7 separate regions of the Homo sapiens genome follow, and all the other regions are linked to region 1. Evidence: promoter capture Hi-C in 16 types of primary human blood cells and fetal thymus (Javierre and others, 2016). All regions are on one chromosome and are shown on one strand. Each heading gives the region's core, a stretch centred on a gene start or on the middle of the fragment in contact. The rest is flanking DNA. Distances are from core to core; before and after follow the strand shown.

Region 1 (3,288 bases), core at 105-2,604:
GTGAGCATAATTCAGGGCTATCCCAATCTTACTTGCACCCACCCTTCGTGACTGACCCAGCTTTGAATCTCTCTAATGAGGATGGGTTTGCTACAGACCTCTCCATTCCCTCCAGATACACTGAGAGGGTGCATGTGGCTTACCATCAAATTCTCTCCACATACTCAGGGGATAAGTCCATGCAATGGATGGTGAGGGGCTGGCCTGTGCCAAGCATCGCAGGGTCACATTCTGTCCTGCCCGGATGGTGATATTGGCACTGGGGGTTGAGATCTGTGGCTTCATGCAAGCACTAAGCTCAGTTTCATGAAAAAGCTGCCCTGCCTTGGACAGAGGGCCCTGACATATCAGGTAGGAATTCACCAGGATGACTGGGAGGGTAATGGACTTGACAAACTGGACAAGCCCCCTTAGGCGACAGTCACATACCCAGGGGTTGTCATGCAGGGCCACCACCAGGCTGGAGAGAATCTCAGCCCCACAGTCAGGCTGCCGGCATTTCTGGTAGGCTGGCCAGTTCAGGAAGACACTCTTGGATACAACTGTAAGCCTATTGGAGGATAGGTCAAGGTAGGTCAGGCTGACCAAGAATTGAAGAGCCAGCTCAGGGAGTGCATCAATCTTGTTGCGTTTGAGATCCAAGACCCTCAGGAGAGGGGTGGCACGGAACGCTGTCCATGGTACTGAGCAGAGCTTGTTCCCCTCCAGTCTCAGCTCCCTCAGTTCTGGCAGGTGTTCCAGGGCTCCTAGGTGGATCACACTGATATTGTTAAAATTGAGCCAGAGGTATTCCAAGGTGCTCATGTTGATGAAAGACCCTTGGGGCATCTCAAATAAGGGTGAATTTTCAATTCTCACTTGCTTGAACTCTTCAGAAAGGTTCCCAGGGATCTTTCCCAAGGAGACAGATGTGCACTGCAGAGTCCTGTACAAGAAACCAGAACAGCTTTAAGATAAACAACAGGGGACTGAAAAGTGGGGTCAGGCTGATCCTGGCATTAGACATGTGAATCAGAATAAAAATATTATTATTCATTGAAATAAAAGAGTTAGACTCATTTTGGTAAAAATGCACAGTTCAGCAAAGTTCAGTCCCAACTAGAATGAGTCTCATAGAGTTTTGCTGATTTCCTGCCAATTCTAAGCCTGCTTCCACTCCACATCATCCCCAAAGAAAACCCATTCCCCATAACCCTCTAACATCTGGCCAGCAGAGCGCACCTGCCAAAACTCTCCTCTGAGCAAGTGCATCCTGGCAGACAGAAAGGCTGAGCTGCGTGTGTATCCAGAAAGACCAGAACTAACAGGAAGTAATGAAAAACTGAAGCCATATTTCTCTGTAAGAAAATACGTTGTGAGTTTTGAATAAGTATCGCCCCAGCTTCCGAGTGGCAAATCCTATTATTGGTAATCCATGATGATGTAAGTCACACAGCAGCAGGAAAGCCCATGGGAGCTCTGAGGTCTGTTACAGCCCAGACCACAAGTTCAGTCAGAACACACGAAGGGGGATCAATGTCTCTTAACTAGGGTCAGGAAATTCAACATTTGTGTAATTCTTGAGTCTGAAAAGCAAACTCCAAGTCAGATGTCCAATTCCATACAGATTCTACATTTCTTAGAGTCTTAAACAGAAGTCTGAGAAACAAGCAGGCAGTGCTATTCTGAGCACCACTGTTCAGGGGATGTGGCCAGAATCCATCTAATGCTTCATCATTTGCAGTTGATTCCTGAAACCTAGAATTTCCAATCATTTTCTCAAAGTGAAAATAGGTGATGAGTAACAAAGTAATTCTGTGTTCATTCCTATCATTTGTTCTCTTCCCAACACCACGGGTGGTGTAGTCATGCTCCTACTGCATCAAGACAGCTGCTTCTGCAGCTTGGGTCACCAGTTTCAAATACAAGATGGTATTTTCTGATTAAACCAAAAGATTGTTTTCTTGGACTTCACAACCTTTCCTTAATACTGTGCATTTCACTTCATCAAAATGGGCAACCTACATTTTAAAAAGAGATGTATACAATTTTATATGCTTGCTCTTTCACTCTTCATTTATTCCACAAATATTTACTGGTCATTTGCTTTAAGCTATACTCTTGCCCAATGAAAGGAACAGGGTCAAGGGCAAACCTATTATAGACCCTGTCCCAAGGAGTCTTCTCTCTTGTTTGTGCTTCTGAATCTTGAGATCTTTGGAATGTAATTTAATCTCTGTGAGTCTTTTCTGTATCATGAGAATATTAACAAATACCTCATAGTGTTTCCAGGAATTTATTTCTCATTATTTTTTAATTTTTGTATTTTTTCAGAGACAGGGTCTCACTCTGTTGCCCAGGCTGGTCTCAAACTTCTCAGCCTCCCAAGTAACTGGGATTACAGGTGCAAGCCATTGCATCCAGCCATATTTTTAGAAAAGTTTGAGATTATGTTAAATACAACACCTAGCACACAGTTGGTGCCCATTAATCCTCCTCCCACTGACAAACTCTTTAAGATCCGAAAAGTCTACATCTCTATTAACTAGGGCACTTCCAGTTGAATATTGAAATTCCATGAGTTCCTTTAAGACTCATGATATACATTGTACCCTACAAAAGGCCTCAGGAAAGAAAATCCGCTTAGCTAACCAGTGAGGGGGGAAATGGGTCACCAGCTAAGCTGATTACACTCCAGGCTTTCCATCCAAGCCAGAAATATTTGCAGGAGTTTCCAAACAGTCTAACTCTAAAACCTGGGGGGACCACTGTGTTTGTCTAAAGGTAAAAATCCAAAACAAAGAGAGAGCTATCGGCACAAAGTTTGTCATACATATGGCTATGTGCTTCCTAGATCCCCCTTCAAGGTATAAGTGGATGCTCAGCTGCAAGGAGTGCTTGCATGAGGTCACGTCCTTCCCAAAGCAGCCACATCCCACATTCAGTGACTGAGGGTGGTGAGGGCCTGGCCAGTTTGCCCTGATGGGGGAAAACTCTGATGAGCAATTATCACTCCAGAGTCCCCTACCAGCTTTGCTAAGGCTTTGTCAGGCTTGTTTCATGGAAATATGTGATTTAATTCATGACTATTCCAAACCACTAGTGGATTCCTTTCTCTCCCCTTACCCCAAAGGATAAAGATCTTAAGAGTCCTCCATTCCCCCACAATTTCCTCTCTGTCCATCTCATGCCAGCCTTTTCAAATGAATCCAGCTCCATCCAACTTTCAAGAAGTTTGCGGGAAGCTTGTGAAGCACACCCACTGGCATGCTATCTCTAGAATCATCTAGGCCACTTCTCTACTGCCCC
Region 2 (3,455 bases), core at 217-2,716, 400 kb after region 1:
GGACTGCAGTGGCGCAATCTCGGCTCACTGCAAGCTCCGCTTCCCGGGTTCACGCCATTCTCCTGCCTCAGCCTCCCGAGTAGCTGGGACTACAGGCGCCCGCCACCGCGCCCGGCTAATTTTTCGTATTTTTAGTAGAGACGGGGTTTCACCTTGTTAGCCAGGATGGTCTCGATCTCCTGACCTCATGATCCACCCGCCTCGGCCTCCCAAAGTGCTGGGATTACAGGCGTGAGCCACCGCGCCCGGCCCTGTTTGGAGTTTTAAAACATTAGTCTTATATCTGGGATGGGTGTTTTTCTAGGCCAGAGCAAGAATGGCATGTGGTGGTGAGCTTAGAGGCTTTGTATTTATGCAGGAAAGAAAATGCTGGCACTTGGAGATCACAGGAAAGCCAGGTGAGGTCTCATTTGTTCTAAGTAACAAGAAAAATGTGATTGTTTTTCCAAGTTCTAGTCCCTTTGGGTAATTACATCCAATGTTGTCTTCTCCAAGATCAAAGGGTGACTCTTTGGATCTGCGTTGCAAATGAGTTACTATACTTTGCAAGCTAAGTCACCACTGCCTAGGTTGTTGTGAGATGGGGCAGGTATACCAGGAGCGCTTGGTCTCAGAAGGATGACACAACAAACCCAGTGAAGCTGGAGACGCATCTTTCAAACAAATTGGTGAGGAAAAGAAGGGTTTGAGAATGGGACAGAGGACACAATCACTGTGCACACTGTGCACAGACATCCCAAGTAGGGAGGAGATTTTCAAAAAAATTCAGCTCTGAAGCTGTTGTTTTATATCGAAGGTAGGTCCGTCAACAACCCTAATCCTCCACCCCAATGTAGCAGCCAAAAGGAGAAGGTGTTCTGTTGCATATATTTGCAGAATGGTTTGGAAGGAAGTCTTGTTCCTGAAGTTCCAGTAATTGCAAGCATCTGTCACTAACAAATAGAAAATGGAAATAGCTCAAGAAATAGACTTACACTTGCTGAAGTTAATGCTTGCAAGGCTAAACTTGAAGCAATTTTAGACACAGAGTACAAAGAGTCTGCAATGAGTATATCAACCCTGATAGAGGAGAGAGTCCAATGTAGTACAGATCAGTGAGGAATGTGTGTGTAGGGGTGGGGGGTGGTACATCTGTGAGGGTGTATTCTTGTGGTCTAAGCCATGGCAAGAATGTTATAAATGTAGGCATCATTATGCTCATTTGACCAGTAGGAAATCTGATGCCCGGAGAATTGAGCCAACTTGTTTCTGTCATAAATTGAATCCATGTCTGTAAGAATTCAAACCACCTTGTCCATTCATGGATGGGGGTTGGATGCACCCCGGAGGTGGACCGGGGGGCAGGCCAACCAGACACCTGAAGAAGAGGTTGTTGAGAACGTTAGCAGGGCAGACACCTTCCTCAGCCTCTCTTTGCATACTTATTATGTATACTATTATGCACATCAGCAAAACCAATATTTCTCACACCGTGTTCTTAAGATTATTACTGTGTTACTAGTACCCCATGAAATATTAGGAAATATCCTACAAAGGGCTTCTTTGCCCAGAGAAATTTGGGTTAAAAGATGATCCTTTTACAGGAGGACTTGTCCAACCTTTTAATAGGCTGTCGTGCGTGACGAAGAGGAGATAAAGTATATCACGTTTCCTAAATTTACTGGATCTTATTGCCCGCCCCCCCCCCCGCCCTGTTTAGTGGATGGTCTCTATAGCTATAGCTATATTTATATATTAGTCTCCTTCATTTAGTGAATTGTATATGTAGTTCATTCTGTAAAGTGGGCTTAGGTCTTTTTATTTTTATTTTTCTTGAAAACGTTCTGCATTACAAGAGCTTCTACACTTTGTACAGCTCAGAATTTTGTTGGCAGCATGCACAGAATGGCAGAGAAGTGCAGGGAAAAGGGCCTAGACTCTGGGAGTTTGCAGATTGAGCTGCGGGGAGCAGGATGCACAGCCTGAAGAAGGAATGTATCTAGAGAAAAGGATGAGGGAGTAGTAATCCAGACAAGGGGAGAATGATAAGGCAACTAGGAGAATGAGATTCTTGCAGTAAAGTGGAGAATAAATGGACAGGCCAAAAATATGAGAGAGGGTGAGCCTGCTGTACTGTTTTCCTCCATTTCCCTGCAAAGAATCATGTTCGAACTGCTTCTTACTGCTGGGCACCACATAGGCTGGTGCCCAGCAAGAGTGCAGTTAAATAATCTGGGGCTTTGCGGCCAAACAGATTTGCATTCAAATCTTGCTCACTAATTCCTGGTTTGTGAGTTTGAGTACATTCCTTCAACTCATCTCGTGACTGCTAAGAACTGTTGAGAAGTTTCAAGGAGGTAATGCATCTGTGATGGTTAATGCTGAGTGTCAACTTGATTGGATTGAAGGATGCAAAGTATTGTTCCTGGGTGTGTCTGTGAGGGTGTTTCCAAAGGAGATTAACATTTGAGTGAGTGAACTGGGAGATGCAGACCCACCCTCAATCTGGGTAGGGACCATCTAATCAGCTGCTAGCATAGCTTGGGACTCAGAGTACCTTTCATCTGTCATAGGCTTTGCTTTACTTTCCTCTTTGCCTTCCGGCTCTCTGGCCTCTTTTCTTTCTCTAAGTCTCTTCCTTTCTCTATTTCAGGCTTAGGAATTGTTTAAACCTTGATTGTGGATAAACTGCTTCCTTATAACTGAGAACTAATTGTTCCTAAGCAGATTAGAACTGAAATTGGAAGCTGGGTGAAAGGTGCAACTCCCCACACCATGTTACCACGCCTCCCGGAGGCTGTCTCACGGGCCAGGCATGCAGCACTCCTCCTCTGGGTCTATGGCTGCTCTTCCTGGTAGACCTATTTTGCTTTGCAACATTATATTCTGCTAAACAGATTTAAAGAGAACATTTAACTCCTGTATGATAGACCTATTGGCAGTGCGACATTGGGGAAATTTTAAATGGTATGTGTATGGTATTTTTTGCCACTTGAATTTTTTTGTTACTCTTTCAAAATGTAAATCAAAACTTCCATTGTGTACGTCTTTCCTGCCATTATGTTACATGATGTTCTTTGCCTGTTACATCTGAGCAAAAGAAAGCTGGGTCTAAAATGGCTGTTGTCAGCTTCTGGAATTCTGGACAGACAACGTCAATGTATCTGAACACACAACGGAATATTTAGGAGAGTTGCTAAGTTGATAACCTTGGAGAACATTGTGCTTTTAAAAATGTCGAATGAATAAAATTTGAGAACTTATTATTTTCCCTCTGATTCATACATGTAATATGTTCTCATTGTAAAAACTAGAAATACAGAAAACTACATCTCATCCAAAAATTAAATTATGGCATATTTTCTTACTTTCTAAGTCTCCTCTGTCTCCATCTTCCTCTCCCCTCTCTCAGAAACCAACAGATGATCAGACTGGACACATGGGTCAGTTTCATTTATTTAACATATTTTGGAGAA
Region 3 (3,262 bases), core at 662-3,161, 350 kb after region 1:
TACCTCTGTAAAGAAAAAAATATAACACTAAAAGCATAAGCAACAACAACAAAAAATAGATAAATTAGATGTCATCAAAATGAAAAACTTATACTTCAAAGATACTATCCAGAAATTGAAAAGAGAACCCACAGAATGGGAGAAAATACTTGCAAATCATATGTCTGATAAGGGACTTGTATCCAGAGTCTATACAACTTAATAAACAGACAACTTTATTAAGCCATTCTTGTTTTGCTATAAGGGAATATCTGAGACCCACCCAGAGCAACTTTTACTCCTGCAAGCTCCATTCATGGTAAGTACCCTACACAGGTGTGCCATTTTTATCTTTTATACTGTATTTTTTACAGTTCCAGTTCTATGTTTGGATTCAGATACTTACCATTGTGTTATTTACAATTGCCTACAGTATTCTAACATGCTGTGCAGGTTTTTAGCCTAGGAGCAGCAGGTTATACCATATAGCCTAGGTGCATAGTAGGTTATATCATTTAGTGTGAGTACACTCTATGATGTCTGCACAATGACAAAATGGCCTAAAGACACATCTCAGAATATATCCCCATGGTTGAGTGATGCATGACTGTATATATGTGTGTGTGTGTATGTGTATACATATGTTTGTATATGTAGAATATATATGTGTATATATATGAGGGTAGGGGTAGGCTGTATTTAAGTATGCCAACAATTGAAACTTAGTGAGAAATAAATGTCTTCCAATTTTGAAAAAAAATGAGAGTATACAAGTATTTATATTAATGCTATATTTTTGAGAGTTTATTTAATCAAATAGTTTTGTGCTTTTTGAGAGCATGTTTCTTTAGTCAAGGACTTAAATGTTTCAAGAGATAAAGAGCTTCTTTTACCATGTGTGAGAACTTGGAGAAACTGTGGGAGAAATGAAAGTAAAGTATTAGAGAGGAGATAAAATAAATGCAGATGGTTGAATGAAATGCTGGAATCATGAGGATGGGCAGAACGTATTGAATGAAGAGAAGAATACTTGGGGAAGAGAAGAATGAAGAGTCCCTTAATACCAGTCAAATGAAAGTACTGGGTGTAAAATTATCAGCAAGCTGGAATGAGCAGAGAAGAACAAGGGAAATGGATGTTCAATCTAGAGACCTGCAATGCATGGTACTTGAGATAATAGCCAAACATACCCAATACCTGTAGAACTCTCTCACTGATAACTATTGAGATCGTTTGGAGCTGCGTAAGTTTCACAAGCTCCAACTCGTCAAATAATGAAAGGCATGAAGGGAAAATATTCAATGTGTTTATTATTTCTCTGCCTCCCCGACATGCACTCTTTCCTAGCTTGATATTCTACATTTAATGTTTTGTGACCTTTAAGTTTCCCACACAACAGAAGCCACTTCAGACCAAACATTGTTAATGGGCTTGTTCTCTACTGCCAATGACCAGAAGGCTGTCCCTGGCTTCCATTGGGGAAGAGGTGAATGAAGACCCAAGGTCAATGCTGCAGTACTAGTAGAAGTGACTAGTGGTTTCTGAACAGTCAGCAGACTGGACATCTGTGCATCTTCATGTTTTCTTTTAGGCAACTGGACAGTAAATGTTCCTCTCAAAGCTTTGGCAGCTGTGAGGATGGTTATTTTTGACTGTCTTTGAGATCACCCATGTGGGGTAGGATGCTGCTGCAGTCCACTACGGGGATGAGGCAGAGCTTGGCAAATCGTCTGTTGTTATTCTTCCTCCTCCATCTCCTCTTTCCAGTCTCCTCCTCCTGGTGGCCTTCTGGGCAATGTGTACTATGGGGAAGAAAGCAGCCCAGCAGCTCTGACAGAAGTATGAATCCCAAGTACTCCAAGGCTCAGGGACTCTGTGCAGGGCCAGTATTGAGTGACAATCTTGAGTGAGGCCAATCAGTATTACATCTATTGTCTCCTAACCAGTCCTCAGATGGTCTGTGCCAAGTGCCTAAGAAAAGGGGGTGTCAAATCATCTGAAACTGTGAGACAAATAAAAGAGCTATAAGGAAAAGGCACTCACAACCCCTATCTCTCACCATATAAAAATAAACTCAAAATGGATTAAAGACTTAAACGTAAGACCTGAAACTGTAAATCTACTAGAAGAAAACATAGGGGAAAAGCTCCATGACATTAGTCTGGGCGAAGATTACTTGCATATGACACCCAAAACACAGGTAACAAAAGTGAAAATAGACAAATAGGATTACATCGAACTAAAAAGCTTCTGCACAGCCAATGGAACAATCAGTAGAGTGAAGAGACAACCTGCAGAATGGGAGGAAATATTTGCAAACCACACTTCTGATAAGGAGTTAACGTCCAAAATATATAAAGAACTCGAACAACAGCAAGACAACAAATAATGAGATTAATAAATGGACAAAAGACTTGAATAGACATTTTTCAAAAGAAGACACACGAATGGCCAAATGTGTATGTAAAAATGTATGAAAAAATGCTCAACATCATGAATCATTGGAGAAATGCAAATTCAAGCCACAGTGAAATACGACTTCACATATTTTAGAAGGGCTTTAATCAAAAAGACAAAAGATAACAAATGTTGTTTAGGATGTGCAGAAAAGGGAACTCCTGCACATTGTTGGTGAGAATGTAGATTAGTACAGGCTTTCTGGAAAATAGCAGGGGGTCCCCCAACAAATTAAAAATAGAATTACCATATGATCTAGCAATTCCACTTCTGGGTATATATCCAAAGGAAATGAAATCCTTATACCAAAGAGGTATGTATACTCCCATGTTGATTGCAGCACTATTCACAATAGCCAAGATACAGAATCAACCTAAGTGTTCACCAGTGGATGAATGGATAAATAAAATATGTCTTATGTACACAATGGAATACTAGTCAGCCATAAAAAGGATGAAATCAGGCCGGGTACGGTGGCTCATGCCTGTAATCCCAGCACTTTGGGAGGTCGAGGCCAGCAGATCACGAGGTCAGGAGATCGAGACCATCTTAGCTAACACTGTGAAACCCCGTCTGTATTAAAAATACAAAAAAATTAGCCAGGCTTGGTGGCAGGCACCTGTAGTACCAGCTGCTTGGGAGACTGAGGCAGGAGAATGGCGTGAACCTGGGAGGCAGAGCTTGCAGTGAGCTGAGATTGTGCCACTGCACTCCAGCCTGGGTGACAGAGCGAGACCCCCAGTCTCAAAAAAAAAAAAGGATGAACTCCTGTCATTTCTAGCAAAAAGGTTGGAACTGGAGGTCATAATGTTAAAGTACGTCAGGG
Region 4 (3,613 bases), core at 11-2,510, 290 kb after region 1:
AAATGTAGACACATGGACACATTGAAGTGTGTGGGGAATGGAATTCATTGGGCAAAAAGGAAAAAAAAACTCAGCAAAGCAAGGGGGGAATCCTGCTAACAGGCCCCCACCTCACAGATAAGTTCCAGGCCACCACACATGTGAGCTGAAGAGCTCAGGCTCTTCCCTCCTGCCCAAGGCTGGAACTTCCCGTGGCTCCACCCAGTTCTCCCAGTGCACAAGCTGGTTGGAGATTCTCTGAGGACCCTCCCCCTTATTGGCCTTCTGCATCTATCATTAGCAAGTACTTTCTTATACTAAAAATTTTCCCTTTTAATTTTGTCATTAAGTGTAGTCATTTCAGTTTCTTCATTTATGCTGTTGATTGCGCGTTTTCCATTGTGAAAATATTTTATCCCTACAGAAAAGACAAGCATGAGTTAAAGAATTGACTTCTTCCTCTGTTAACTTGGTTTAAGTAAGTTTGATGGGATGTCTTACCTGTGTCACTTGCTGTGCTGGCTGCAGGGTGTACAAAGGTAACGATGATACAGGTTCTGCCTTATGGAGCTTAGGAACCCTAGGGGATTTTTAACATCATCCGATCCATTGCAGCACTGAGCCCTTCCCTTGCATTCCCTGTTTATTATCTTCCTTTGAACCTACCAGTCTCTTTTGACGTTTCCTCTTCAGTTTCATTTCATTCTGGGCTTTAACTCCCTTGCACTATTCTCCTCTTGGATTCTATATTATGTTTATTCTTGTTTGGTTGCATGCCTTCATTTCCCTAGAAAACCTGGCCTTTTATTATTTTATCCAAGAACGAACTTCCTCTTTAGCCACTATTAAATACTCTGCTTTCTACTTTAGGTTCTTGGAATTTGATTTTAAGACTTCTCGACTATCCTAAGGCCACTGTCCCTTTTAGAACCTCAACCCATAAGATGTTGCTTTCTGAAGTCTACCTTTAACATTCAAATTCATGTCCGGGCTTTTCCTTCCATCCCATTCTCTTGGATAGATCAAATATAATATGGTCTACTTGATGTTTTCAGTTTCTATTTTAATTTTTAATTTTTATGGATATATAATAATTATACATATTTATTAAATACCTGTTATTTCGATACAAGCATACACTATAATCTGTGTAATTGGGATATCCATTGCCTCATTTATTTCTTTGTGCTAGGAATATTTCAATACTACTCTTCTGGTTATTTTGAAATATACAATAAATTATTGTTAACTATGGTCACTGTACTGTGCTACTGAACACTAGGTCCTATTCATTCTAACTGTATTTTTGTACCCATTAACCATCCCCTCTTTATCCCACCTCCCCACCACCCTTTCCAGCCTTTGGTAACCACTATTCTACTCTCTACCTCTGTTAGATCATTTCTTTTTTATCTTCCACATGAGTGAGAATGTGCAACATTTGTCTTCCTGTATGTGGCTTATTTCACATAATGACCTCCAGTTTCATTCATGTTGTTGCTGGTTTCCTACCATTTCTTGCCATGGAGTCTCTAAGGAGGAATTTAGGTCATCCAGAGAAGCCTTTTCCTCACTGATGAATTCTCCCACCCACCCATGCACACAGCCCTCAAATTAGCATCTTTTCTGTGCAAAAATCAGAGAGGAAGAAACAGTTCCTCACAGGCACTTCTCTGGTTTCTCAACCTGAAAAATGGTATTGCTACTTTCCAGATCTCAAAACAACCCACTCCTTAATCCTCACATGAATTCATTCAGACACCCATTTTGAGTATGAATAATCCTTTGGTAATACTTTAAGTGATTACAGAACAAATGCTTTCTGCAGCAAAAGTATACCTGAAATATCAGTCTACTAAAGTGAAAGGTAACTATTCCCCACAAGAAACATGGTTGAAATGCTTGTTTTGTGCACAGCCCTCGTTTCTGTCTCGTGGCAGGAGGTGGATGAGACGGAGACCCTGCGATTGAAGAGATCAAATTGCAACATGACAAGAAGGATCCCAAACAAAGCACTGTAAGAGAGCCAGTGGGCAGGAAGGGGACGTTTGGGACCACAGGTGAACTCGCTTCCAAAACCATTCATCCTTGACAAATGTGCATGTGTGTTAGGATTTCTTTTTAATTACAGCTAAATAAAAACTAGGCCACTATCACATAACCTGTAGTGGTAACGATACATTCCACGAACCTGAGGCCTTTTTAAGCACGTATCAGTTCAAAATACTTCTGAATTATCAGGAATTTAAAAAATTTTCACAAGTTTTAGCTGAGGTTTTGCATTTATAGTAGGTCAAGTGCAAATGTGAATTGCAATGAAAAACAAAAGTAATAGGAGTTGTGATGGATTGTTAATGCAAATGGTTTCTTAAATTGTGTTCCAGAGTTTTGCTGAGATGCAAACACAGATGCTCTAAACTCCCTGCTGCCAGGGGCCGCCTCCACCAGGTTCAAAGATTCAGGACTAGTCAGAGCTCACAGGAGGTGTTTGGGAAAGGGTTTGGGCCAGACCTGGGCACTCAGAACCCTGGTCCTTGGTCTGACTACTCTCATTCTAAGAAAAATTTCAACTAAGGGAAGGAAAGCAGAGCACACAGTGCTTTCCTGCCTTTCAGAGCTCGTAAAGAATTCAAGGGGGAAGCAAAGGAGACCATGGACTTAGAACTATTTGTGAATATTACAAGAAGCATTACTGAAGTCACAGAACAAACCACCAAAGTACAAAGGGCCAATATAACAGAACAAATTAATGATTTTTGCTATTAGTCAAAGAGATGCAAAACAGAATGGCGTGCTACTTACATACCTTTACATGCAAAGAACTGTTTAAAAGAGTGGAGCATTGGAAAAAAAAAGTCTGACAGTAGGAGAATGATTACATTATTTATATGACAAGATGATGCCACAGTCAGCTAATGCTCTTGGGGAATATTTACTCAAAATATGTATAACAATATTTATTCAAAATATTCATATTACAACTGAGGACAAAAGCAAATTTACGAATCCATGAATGTAGTACAATGTGAATACATATATGCTTATAAATACCTATATAAAAGAATAACTTCTTAATGGCTGAATTATTGGCCATTTTTTAATCTTTTTATATATTTTCTGTTTTTTAAAAATGGTGAGACTATGCTCTTATAATCAAAATTGCATGTGTATGTCTGTGTGTTTAATAACAGGGTCATTTCTGTTGCCCAGGCAACATTTGTAAGGCACCTGGCGTATAGGCATCCAATAATTAATCTCCCTTGCCACAGATTTAATGAGTGGTCTTTGTCATCATGGGATGATGTTTCAGAAAATTTTAAGTCACTTATTCAATGACATAGCAAATGGCCTATCTCCCTAACCTCAAAACTAGTAAGACTGCATTATTGTTTTACTCCTTTTTTTGTTCTGGTAATTGGGGTTGGGAACACATTACCTTATGAATCAGGATCCGTCCACTGTCAGTGACAAAATCTATTTCTGCCAAACTTGAATAGTTTGTTCCCTTAGCATGGAAGCTTGGAGAGATTCGTCCTTATTTATGTCAACCCTTCTCTGTGTTCTTTGTGTAGTATTTTCTTATTAGTCATCAGTTCCGTCTACACCATCCCAAATAGGAGTGCCCTAAACAAAA
Region 5 (3,308 bases), core at 410-2,909, 270 kb after region 1:
GTGTTTTGAGTTTATGTCTTTATAATAATGTTTTAGTTGTTGCTGTAGGCATTATATTTCACACACACATACATATATATTTAACTATATATAGTCTACTACATGTAGAAACTTTATGTCCTTTTAAGTCCCTTTTCCTCTCCCATTTATAAGTTTCTTAAATATTTTTTATGCGTATTTTAAGAAGTACATAAGAAAATGTCACAGCCATACAAGGGTGGAGGCCTACACTCCCCAGTCCTCCCTTTCTTTTTTCTTTTTTGAGACGGAGTCTCGCTCTGTCGCCCAGGCTGGAGTGCAGTGGGGTGATCTCGGCTCACAGCAAGCTCCGCCTCCTGGGTTCATGCTGTTCTCCTGCCTCAGCCTCCCAAGTAGCTGGGACTACAGGCGCCCGCCACCACGCCCGGCTAATTTTTTGTATTTTTAGTAGAGATGGGGTTTCACCATGTTAGCCAGGATGGTCTGGATCTCCTGACCTCGTGATCTGCCCGCCTCGGCCTCCCAAAGTGCTGGGATTACAGGCATGAGCCACCGCGCCCGGCCTTCCCAGTCCTCCCTTTCTGATGGGAATGGGGGCTGGGGCCACAGGTTTTTCTGTGGTGTTAGGTAGATTACTGGATACAAGTTTCCTGCATTGCTAGTCTTCCTCTTTCCTGATCCTTTGGCTAGAGTGTGCAGGCTTTCTTAAATTTTTTTTTTGTGTGTGTTCCTTGTCATTTCCAGGGGCTGGCTTCTCTATCACTCATTTTAGGATACATTAGGCAAAAAGAAAATCACCATATTTTTCCTTGGGTCCCAAGCTGGTCTCACTTTTTCTCTCTACCTTTCAGAATATTGTGTTTTATATATAGTGCCCAGGGTTTTTAGCTGTATTTGACAGCAGGAAAAGGGAGAAGTATGTCTACTCCATCTTTTCCTGAAACTGGAATTCCCTGTTCTATTAAATGCTGATCAGAGTATGTTATTTCTACTCTCTATAAGTAAATTGACAAGAAGCTAAGTAGTTGACACCAAGGAAAGTAAGAGAGCTATTATTTTCAGGGTGGTTATATTTAATAGAAGAATTTTTAAGATACTCAAATCAAAGTAATGAAAAGAGGAAGAAAGATTCCACCAATTGCTGTGGGTGTTTATAAACAAGAATGATCATAATTAATTTAGGCAGGATCAGGAAAAGCTTTTAGGAAATGGGTTTGAAAGAACCTAAGGGGGCTGGATAAGATTTTGACAGATGGGTAGAGAAGTGGAAGACGCATTGTAGGTGGCAGAAATAAAATGAGTAACATTCTTTGTCTTTCTGGGCATAAGCTCTGATGGCATACAACTGTTTGATAGGCTAATAGATGGGTGCCCCTTGGCGGTGGCAGGCAGCGCTGTTTATGTATTTATTTCACAAGGTTGTCTTTCCCTTCTTATACTCAGACCTATGCCAGAGATTATGATTTGTTGGTCTTGGGGAAATAAAGACAGATATCATTGTTTTTGGTTTTAAAATTTCTTAGGTGGTTATAGTGTGTGGCCGGGATTGACAGATGCTACAGCTGCATCTCTAGATAAACACAGTAAATTAATTTAATTTTGTTTAAATCAGTAAATAGTTAACTTAGTGTCTGCTACATGCTGGGGGAGTTTTAGGCTATAGAAGGTGGGACATCTAATATCTTTTAAAACTCCTGCGAACTTATAGGTACTGTGACAGATACTTTCACCTAAATTATTTCAGGAATTAATGATCTAGCAGGAGAGACAATTTAATACAAAGTTGATTGTTTTAAATGCCATATAAATAGAGTTACAAAATTAAAAATAGAGTTATAAAATTACTGGAGTGGAGATGGGGACAGATATGAGTAACTAAATTATAGGAACTAAAAGTAAGAGGGTTCTTCGAGATGAACCAGTCCAGCCTCTGCATCTGACAAATAAGGAAACTGAGGCTCAAAAATCAGTAATTTTCTCAAGGTTACAAGGCTTGGGAAAGATCCAAGGAAAAAAAGTTTCCCTGATTCCAAGGTCAGTGCTATTTCCACAGACCTGCAAAGGTAAACATACCTCTTTGGTGAAGGAAACAATGACTGTTTTCTTAAACATGTCTATGAAGTTACCATCTGAAAGTTTCTTTACTTAGTAGTACAGTGGGTAGAAGCTTGGTTCTGCAAAACGCATAGGGAGGATTTGGTTGAGAATTTGTTTAGTATAAATATAGCCTTTGAACCAAAACATTTCACAAACAGCATAACAGCAGGTAGTATCTATGGAGAGCATCTGGGGTCATCACCTTATTCAATGTTTTCTAAGCTGTTTTTGCCAAATTAGCAAAAGAAAAAAGTATAATAATTTCAAAAGATAAGATTTTTATTTACTAGAATATCCTAAAGATTGTTAATTTAGTTTTTGTGGCTTTTTTTTTTCCCTTCATCAACATAGAAAATGGATCTTTTATGTTTCTGTTTTATATTGAACAATGTGGGATCACCCTTAAATTTAAAGAAGTATTTGATTATACCTGAGTCAAAGAATGTTGATACGGAAAGTGAGAAAAATTTTTTTCATTTCAGACCCTTCATAAGATCTGTAAACACTGTTAAACTATTATCGTAATTTTTAATACAATATTATTTTTAAGTCAGATTAATTGGTCTGAAAAAATATACATAATTTCTTTTGCAGATTTAACTGGGTATGATCATGATTTATAGGCTGATTTTCCTTAATGATATTTTAAGAGTGTTTCAGTAGATTTTTTTGTGCATATGTTTCAGTCAGTAAGGAGGCTAAGGACATAAGACCCAATATGGTTCCCTTTGTATAACATTGAACAGTTACTTTCTTGAAAAAAGTTTTTTCTGTAAAGTGAGGACATTGAAGTAAATGACATTTCAGGAGTATCGTAGTTCTGATAATCTGTGATTAAAATAAGTAAAGCTAAAAAGCCACAAGTTATTGAAATTAAAAAGCATGTCCACGTAACCAGTGGCCTACATGTCACATTACAACATCCTGAATCTTTTTTAATGCTGTGTTGGTTTTGCTAACTTTAGCTAATGTTCTTTATTTTTACCTGCTAATCCTCTGAAAACCTGTGATTTAAGAAGAAATTTTATTTTTTTTTGAGACGGAGTCTTGCTCTGTTGCCCAGGCTGGAATGCAGTGGCGTCATCTCGGCTCACTGCAACCTCCACCTCCCAGGTTCAAGCAATTCTCCTGCCTTAGCCTCCCGAGTAACTGGTTTTACAGGTGGCTGCCACCACACCTGGCTAATTTTTGTAGTTTTAGTAAAGACAGGGTTTCACCATTTTGGCCAGGCT
Region 6 (3,622 bases), core at 1,069-3,568, 380 kb after region 1:
TGGCAGTGAGCTGAGATCACGCTACTGTGCTCCAGCCTGGGTGACAGAGCGAGACTCCATCTCAAAAAAAAAAAAAAAAAAAAAAAAAGAAAAGAAAAGAAATGGCAGAACCGCATCCACCTGGGAAAGGATACGCCTTTCCTTTAGTTTGGAACTTGTTTCCAGGAGATGCCTGTGCGAAATGGTGCCAGGCTCCAGCTTGGCTGGGCTTTCTTCCTGTTCTCTTTGATAGGGCCAACCAATATGTAGCTGCCCTGAAATTTGAAAATCTGGAACAGATAAAAAAAATCTGAGCAAGATTTTTTTAATGGAAAATTTCCCAAACTGCAAAATGAAACTATTAAACTTGTCAGAGAAAGTGTGAATAAAGAGCTTTCTAATTGAAGGGAGAAATGGCTTTGGAGTGACATTTACAAACATGGGAGAAGGAGAGAAGTGTAGATGTCGTTGAGGGACAATCATGGAGCTCCTTCCGCCCTGGAGCTTGTTACCATCTTTCTTTATGTGCTGGTAGTGGCGGTGCTTGTGTTGATGTTAGTTTGCTGCCCCGCAAAGGTGATGATGTCATCTTATCCCCAGGCCTTAGAAAACCCAGTCTGGGGTGATTCAATAGTGCTAGTTGCCCAACTGTCTTCTTAAATGAGGCAAGGGCCAAGATAGTCACTAGATGATTCGAGCCCTCTGTCCATTTCTCATGTGGCAGAGACCCTGCTTATTTTTCCTCTCCGGGTCTGCTTTGAGGCCTGGTTGTGGAAAGGGGGCTTCTAGGTAGCATAGAGCCAAAGCATTCTCTTTCTGAAGTCCATAGTTGCCTTGGGAGAGGGCATGTGATGGGGACAGTCTGTGAGTAATTGAGATTGGCTAGATGACAAAGCAGGCAGTCTCCTCCCATTTGACTTCATAGTCTAAATAACCGTTGTTCCTTTTAACCCCACTGCAATGACTTAGTTCAGGCTAGAACTTTTATAAGAACCTTTATATAACTTAGGACTTTTTGGTTGTAAGTAATAGAAACTAAACTTGCAACCTTAACAACAAAAAAGAAATGCAGAAATGTATCAGACTCTCCTTCCAACCTCATGGAATGGGAAGGAACGCCTAAAGTTGGACTTCCAGAATGGACCCAGAGACAAAGGCCGTGCAGAGTCCAGACAGTTCTCACTGGTGACCTCTCTTTGTTCCCCTCTTTGCTTCTTAATTTCTTGCAGAATAGCTCCCTCTATGCCCTAGTCAGCCTAGCAAGTAAAATCACAAGCTTCTCTTTTTTCCTGGGTTGCAGACCAGTGTCCCCAGGGAGATGGAATTCACCTTTTTTTGGTTCCCGATGCCAAGTTCCCAGGAGTGGAAGTCATTGGCCATCTCAGGCCAGATTCCCAGGCAGGCCTGAGTCTGCAGAAGGCCCTGGGAAACCCAGTTTGCATAAATTCTCATTTCTGATTTCATTTTCTGATTTCTGCACCAGGGCAGAATAAATATATACCTCTTACTCCACGGCAGATTCCTACTAAAGTGCTGAGTGGCTGAGCACACAAAATGCCCATTGCAATCCCCAGTGGTCCTTCTGCCTTGGCACTCTTTCCTGCACTGCCACAGGCATCTCTCTAAGACCAAGCCTGTGCTTAGGGGCCTAGCTGGCTCTATTTGCCAAAAGGAGGAATTTCTACCTCCCTGGCACTGCCGACAAGGCAGTTCAGCTCTAAGCATCTTACTTTCTGGCCAAAGACCTCAAATGCCCTCCTTGTGTGTTTGCTCATGCTGTTGGCTTTGCGCAAAATGCAAACCTTTCTCTCTTCTGTTTGATCACTCTTCATCTTTCTGGAAGCCCGCTCAGACACAGCTGTTTGTGGGCAGCCTTCCCAGGGACAGAAGCTACTCTTCCTCTGCTATCCCATGGGACAATGTGCAGATCTCCCCACTAATCCAATGTGGTGTCAGGTGCCCCTCTCTCCCAATGGAACTTGTTGTCTAGGCGGGGCTGTCCCCTCTAGAAAGTGCTTACATGTTTGTTAAAGCAAGAAATGAGTAGACAGGTGCAGTTGTTACAGTGTCACTTGTGGTCCTGGGTGCCAAGACAGGGCTAGGAGAGTTTTCTGATTAAAACTCAGAGGTGAAGCCTGTCACCCAGCAGGCTTATGTTTTAGGACTGGGTTTGGGTTTGGAGGTTGCAGAGCTGAATGCTGCAGACCAGCTGGGGAAGGAAGGGTCGGCTTCAGGCTGTAGCCTGTGCCTTCTCCAGGGAAATTCAGGCGACGTGAGAATGGAGAACTGGAGGGCAGACACAACAAACCCGGCTGCCCACGCCGGGAGGAGGAGTTTTCCCCAGGTGCACTCCCTCTTGCTGTGAGGCTCCAGCCAGCTCTGTGGAAGGGAGACTTGCTCCAGCCCCATGCCCTTTGAAGTGTGCATGAAACTGGGCAGTGTGAGCAGTTTTCAAGCCACGCTCAGGTTTTAAATATTTTTGCCCCTCATTGTAAAGCGATGCATGTCTATCGTGGAAAAGTTGTGAAATACTGAAAAGTCAAAAGAAGAAGAAAAGGCACCCATCAGCCCCTCATCCAGGAATAACCCCTAATTAAGCAATTGGATTTTCCTTTCTGGCTTTTTTCTGTGAATTTCTTCACAATGTTGATCTCATGTTATGATGACCACATTGTGTCCTTTGTTATTGTTGTTTGTTTTACATATAAGCATTTATTTCTGTGGCCATGAAATATAATTTTTAAGGGTTTTGTAATATTCTATTTCTGAGCAAGTCACAATTTGCTGAACAGTTTTAGGCCGGGATTTTAAGTATGTTCACAGCAACGCAACCACCCTTGGGACATGAAGAAAGGGTGGTGGTGGTCAGGACCACGCTGATTCAGGAGGGTGCCCGGAGGTGGCCCAGGATCCCACAGCATCTGGTTATGCCCTGACTGTGACTAAGAATGAAACCAGATGAAAGAGCTGACACAGAAGAAAAGGTACAAATCTGGGTTACAGGAGGATGTAGGTTTGCATTCTGTTTGTCAGTTTTACTGGTTGCAGGACTTAAAGCAAGTTATTCTAGCCTGCTGGGCTTCAGTTTTTTAGTCTAAAAAATGGGGTGATAAATAATTGACTCAAAGGATTGTGCTAAAAACATAAAGTATATCATAGGCAACATGGAAGTGTTTAAATATATAACTAAAAATACACTAAATATGTAATATGTGCTGTATGGTATAATTTCATCCTATATAAATAGAATATAGAAAATATGGTGTAAGCCCTGGAAAACAGATGTAACTTATGTGAGAGAATATAGAAAGGCCTCAGAACAGTGTTTAGCACAGAAAATAGGTCCTAATATCTGTTAGAATGAGGAGTGCTCCTTTTTGACTTAGCTGAAATGATGCATGAACAAGCTTGTTTGGAATCACTGCTGTTTCATGGACCAAATTTAACAGAGGAGGAAGGCCAGGAAAGGCCAAGTCAGTGAGCTTGGCAGTACCTGACCTCGTCTGGTCATTTCTCTGCAGAGCTAACTCAAGCTCTCAGCTGCTTTGTTGAGCAGGGAGAGCATTTGATGGTTTTTCCCAATTTCCTCAAACCCATGACCTCCCATTTCATTTTCCAACTGGCCATTTTCAAAGACTGAAAT
Region 7 (3,379 bases), core at 841-3,340, 320 kb after region 1:
ATTTTGGTTCATTTTTATTTGCCCTATGACTGATGGGGCCAAGCCTTTTTTCATATGCTCGTTGGTCATTCAAGTTTTCTCTTCCACAAATTGCTTGTTTTCCTAATTAACGGGTTGTCAGTCTCTCTGTGCCCTGGAGCCAACTCCTTTGTTTGTTATACACAACCTTGTCTTATCCATCAGTAGTACATCCCTGCATCTTTCTCAGTGCCAGACAAGGGGCCAGCCATTGATAAATTTTTACTGGAAAAGGGAGAAATGAAGAAGACAAGCCCTCTGGAACCTGCAAAGCTGTTCTGACTGTCCCCTGGGGGTGACCTGCATGAGCACAGGCCTGTTTAGGAGATGGATCTGCCTGGGAACTCGGCACTAGGTCTGAGCAGATAGACAGCAGTGACAGCCAGACTGGGCAGGGAGATGGCCGATGGGGAGGGGGCTGCTGAGTCCAGTGGACCCTTTCTGGGCTCCACCCTCCATGAAGAGTCTCTAAGCCTTGCTGACTTTGTTGCCAACAATTCTTCAAGAGGCCACCCTGAGATATCTGGAAGGCAGTAAGAAATCTGGTCACTTCTACAAAATGCCGGGATCCCAATCCCTTTCCCAAGGTGAGCCCATTAGCCGCAATCCTCAGGACTCAGTTAGACATTTAATTTCCAGTTTCTCCAAATCTTGCTCCCGTTCTGAGTCATTAAACAGGCTCCCAGGCTGTCTCCATTTGAACATGCACTTGGCCGAGGCAGCCCTGGGTGCTCTGCAGGGAACATACGCTAACAGCTCCCCTTCGAGCACTGCCTGGGAGAAGTGTGGAGCCCAATCCAGCCCTCATCACGTCCTTAATTTCCAAGCACCACTTGCAGCCATGCTGTGGCGAGAATTCAACTCTTACCTGCCTGTGAATGATTCTTTAAATAAATACAGTTTACACAAAGCTTTGAGAGGACAGGAATCATAGCTGACGTTGCCCAGTGTCCCAGCACCTAAAATGTACCTGGCACTTAGGAGGCCTCAATAGTGATTTATTTATTTATTTTGGAGACGGAGTCTTGCTCTGTTGCCCAGGCTGGAGTGTAATGGCATGCTCTCGGCTCACTGCACCCTCCGCCTCCTGAGTTCAAGCGATTCTCCTGCCTCAGCCTCCCAAGTAGCTGGGACTACAGGTGCCCGCCAACCTGCCCAGCTAATTTTTGCATTTTTAGTAGAGATGAGGTTTCACCATGTTGGCCAGGCTGGTCTTGAACTCCTGACTTCAGGTGATCCACCTGCCTTGGCCTCCCGAAGTGCTGGGATTACAGGCGTGAGCCACCGTGCCCGGCCTCAGTAGTGATTTATCTAAGAAATGGATGAAGGGACCAGAACAATTGACATTATCAAGGTGGCAATTCTCTTTGAGTTTATATAGAAATAACATTTATTCGAGTAAAATATTATGAGATAAATATCATCTTTTTTAAACATTTAATCTAATCATTTAAAAAATTTATCTAGAACATAGAAGAATAGCCACTGAAATCTTGATATGAAAAATTTCCAGATATTAAACCTTGCTTCAGATATTAAAACCTATTATAAAGGGACAATAATTGAAAGAATATGGTACTGGTATAGAAGTGGATATATCAGTGGACAATATTAAATTGCTGAAATATACCCAAGTAATGCAATAATTTAGTTCATAGTAAACATGGTGTTTCAAAAGGGTAGAAAATGATTATCCAGCCTCAAAGCGGGGAGTCTCTGAGCTCGGAGCTCTGAAGGGCCTTAGCAGTTTGGCGCCTTATAATTGCAAGACCCTATCTTATCAAGAGGTGACAGCTGTTGGGTGAGATGGGGGGAGTTTGCAAAGCTAGCAGTCTCTAAATGGATAAAAAAATTGCTTGTTTGAGCTATTTTAAAAATAATTGGATGTGTAAAAATTTTAGCTGGGTGCTGGCAGGCTTTTGAGCTAACAGATCTCAGCCTGCAGTGCAGAAATAAGCAATCCATGGGCTAATGTACAGAGGCCATCTTTGGCTCATTTATAAAACAAGTCCCTGTTGGCAACTTCAGCAGCTACAGCTGGTGGGATCACCTCCCCGCTCTCCAGAGGAGCTGTGTATAAAGGGACTCCATGATGCTTCCCAGTGAGAGTCCAAGGTGAGCAAGCAACTTCCCTTTCTGTGCGTTTTCCTACCCTCCTTTTTCCCATCAGCCTCTCATGATGGTCATGACAACAGGCAACATCTGAGCATTTTTTTTTTGCCAGGCACTCGGTCAGATGCTTTCATGGAAACCATCATCAAATACACAAAGCAAATTTATGAGGTAGCAAATTTATGTATCATCTCCATTCTACAAATGAGGAAAGTGGGCAGAGAGGGGCTGAACAACTTGCCCTAGGTTTCACAGAGAGCACAAAGCAGAGCTGGGTTCTGATCCTGCAGGCTAACTCTCCCCCAGTGCCCAATGCAGGTGGGCTTCCTCACCTGCACACCTCCGCTTCCCTCCATCCCTCACCCCTAGTTTGTTCTCCTCCTTTTGGTACAAGTGTGTTTCCTGTAGCCCTCTGCAAGGCCTCCTTCTGGTTCTAGTCCTTCCTTCCATATCAGTCAGGGTCCCCCTGGGAGACAGAACCACAGCACTTATTTGAGCAGAGAGTATTTTAATATAAAGAATTGTTTACTAGGCATAAAATTGTGAACTCCATAACTGAAAGGACATAAAAAAGACTCTAAACTATCACAGACGTGGTGACTGCAGGAAGCAGCACTCACACCTAGGGCTGGAGGAATAAGGGAAGAGAATGGAATTATTAAAACTCAAGGCTTGGGCAAAGCCCCTGGAACTGGAACTCAGATTGAGTAGGGAGTGATGGCTGGTGCTTGGGTTTCTGCAATGGGTGGGAGGGTAGATGGGATGAAAAAAACTGCAGAATGAATCCAGCTGCTGCTACAGGAAGGAACTGCCTTTGCTGGGGCGAAGAGGCATTGCTAGGGTGATGCTCATAAGAGCAGAAGCCAATGGGAAGGAGCAAGTTCTGCTCCATCCTCCAGCTCCCCAGTCTCCCTGAAGTGCCCCCTACTGGTAAAGTCCAACAGGGAGCAGCCGGCAAAGCAGAAACGTGGTTTGCAGCATCCTAGCCTCAGCGTCACTGAGCTGAGATAGAAGGGTGGGTTTGGAGCTGAGAGACAATAAGTAGTACACCTTTCTGTGGCCAAGGTTGAAGCCTTATCACTTAGACTTCAGGATATGCGCCTCAACCATTTCCTCTCTGCTAAGCTTTTGGGGAGCTCTGCTTCCAATTCCCACAGAGTTATTGTTCCTCTTCCATGGGGTACAGATGGCAGAGTGCCAGGGTCCCTCTCCAAACGGAACTGAGAAATGTACATACCTATTATGTCCT

The links. Contacts are between HindIII fragments. The CHiCAGO score rates a contact against its expected background, and 5 or more counts as called.
Region 2: a fragment that was not itself captured here is called in contact with the fragment with the promoter of LRIT2 in region 1 in 1 of 17 cell types (non-activated CD4 T cells); the score reaches 5.0 in non-activated CD4 T cells.
Region 3: a fragment that was not itself captured here is called in contact with the fragment with the promoter of LRIT2 in region 1 in 1 of 17 cell types (activated CD4 T cells); the score reaches 6.4 in activated CD4 T cells.
Region 4: a fragment that was not itself captured here is called in contact with the fragment with the promoter of LRIT2 in region 1 in 10 of 17 cell types (neutrophils, activated CD4 T cells, total CD8 T cells and 7 more); the score reaches 12.4 in neutrophils.
Region 5: a contact is called between a fragment that was not itself captured here and the fragment with the promoter of LRIT2 in region 1, in 1 of 17 cell types (total CD8 T cells). The highest score is 6.3, in total CD8 T cells.
Region 6: a fragment that was not itself captured here is called in contact with the fragment with the promoter of LRIT2 in region 1 in 1 of 17 cell types (non-activated CD4 T cells); the score reaches 5.3 in non-activated CD4 T cells.
Region 7: a fragment that was not itself captured here is called in contact with the fragment with the promoter of LRIT2 in region 1 in 8 of 17 cell types (total CD8 T cells, non-activated CD4 T cells, activated CD4 T cells and 5 more); the score reaches 9.4 in total CD8 T cells.

Annotation. Positions count from the first base shown.
Region 1 is chr10:84,224,190-84,227,477 of GRCh38, forward strand. It overlaps LRIT2 (leucine rich repeat, Ig-like and transmembrane domains 2), which reads right to left and starts at 1,355. Exons shown (of 3, transcript NM_001017924.5): 1 at 1,222-1,355; 2 at 144-925. The coding sequence starts at 1,331. The HindIII fragment of the contact is 7,130 bases long and covers 1-3,222 here.
Region 2 is chr10:84,624,118-84,627,572 of GRCh38, forward strand. No RefSeq gene overlaps it. Among named protein-coding and RNA genes, the nearest start is that of CCSER2, 300 kb to the left of the region's middle. The HindIII fragment of the contact is 7,132 bases long and covers 1-3,455 here.
Region 3 is chr10:84,578,439-84,581,700 of GRCh38, forward strand. No RefSeq gene overlaps it. Among named protein-coding and RNA genes, the nearest start is that of CCSER2, 250 kb to the left of the region's middle. The HindIII fragment of the contact is 626 bases long and covers 1,599-2,224 here.
Region 4 is chr10:84,519,240-84,522,852 of GRCh38, forward strand. No RefSeq gene overlaps it. Among named protein-coding and RNA genes, the nearest start is that of CCSER2, 190 kb to the left of the region's middle. The HindIII fragment of the contact is 4,470 bases long and covers 1-3,495 here.
Region 5 is chr10:84,496,042-84,499,349 of GRCh38, forward strand. The region is part of intron 9 of CCSER2 (coiled-coil serine rich protein 2); the gene reads left to right. Among named protein-coding and RNA genes, the nearest start is that of CCSER2, 170 kb to the left of the region's middle. The HindIII fragment of the contact is 969 bases long and covers 1,176-2,144 here.
Region 6 is chr10:84,605,411-84,609,032 of GRCh38, forward strand. No RefSeq gene overlaps it. Among named protein-coding and RNA genes, the nearest start is that of CCSER2, 280 kb to the left of the region's middle. The HindIII fragment of the contact is 2,131 bases long and covers 1,254-3,384 here.
Region 7 is chr10:84,546,014-84,549,392 of GRCh38, forward strand. No RefSeq gene overlaps it. Among named protein-coding and RNA genes, the nearest start is that of CCSER2, 220 kb to the left of the region's middle. The HindIII fragment of the contact is 2,326 bases long and covers 928-3,253 here.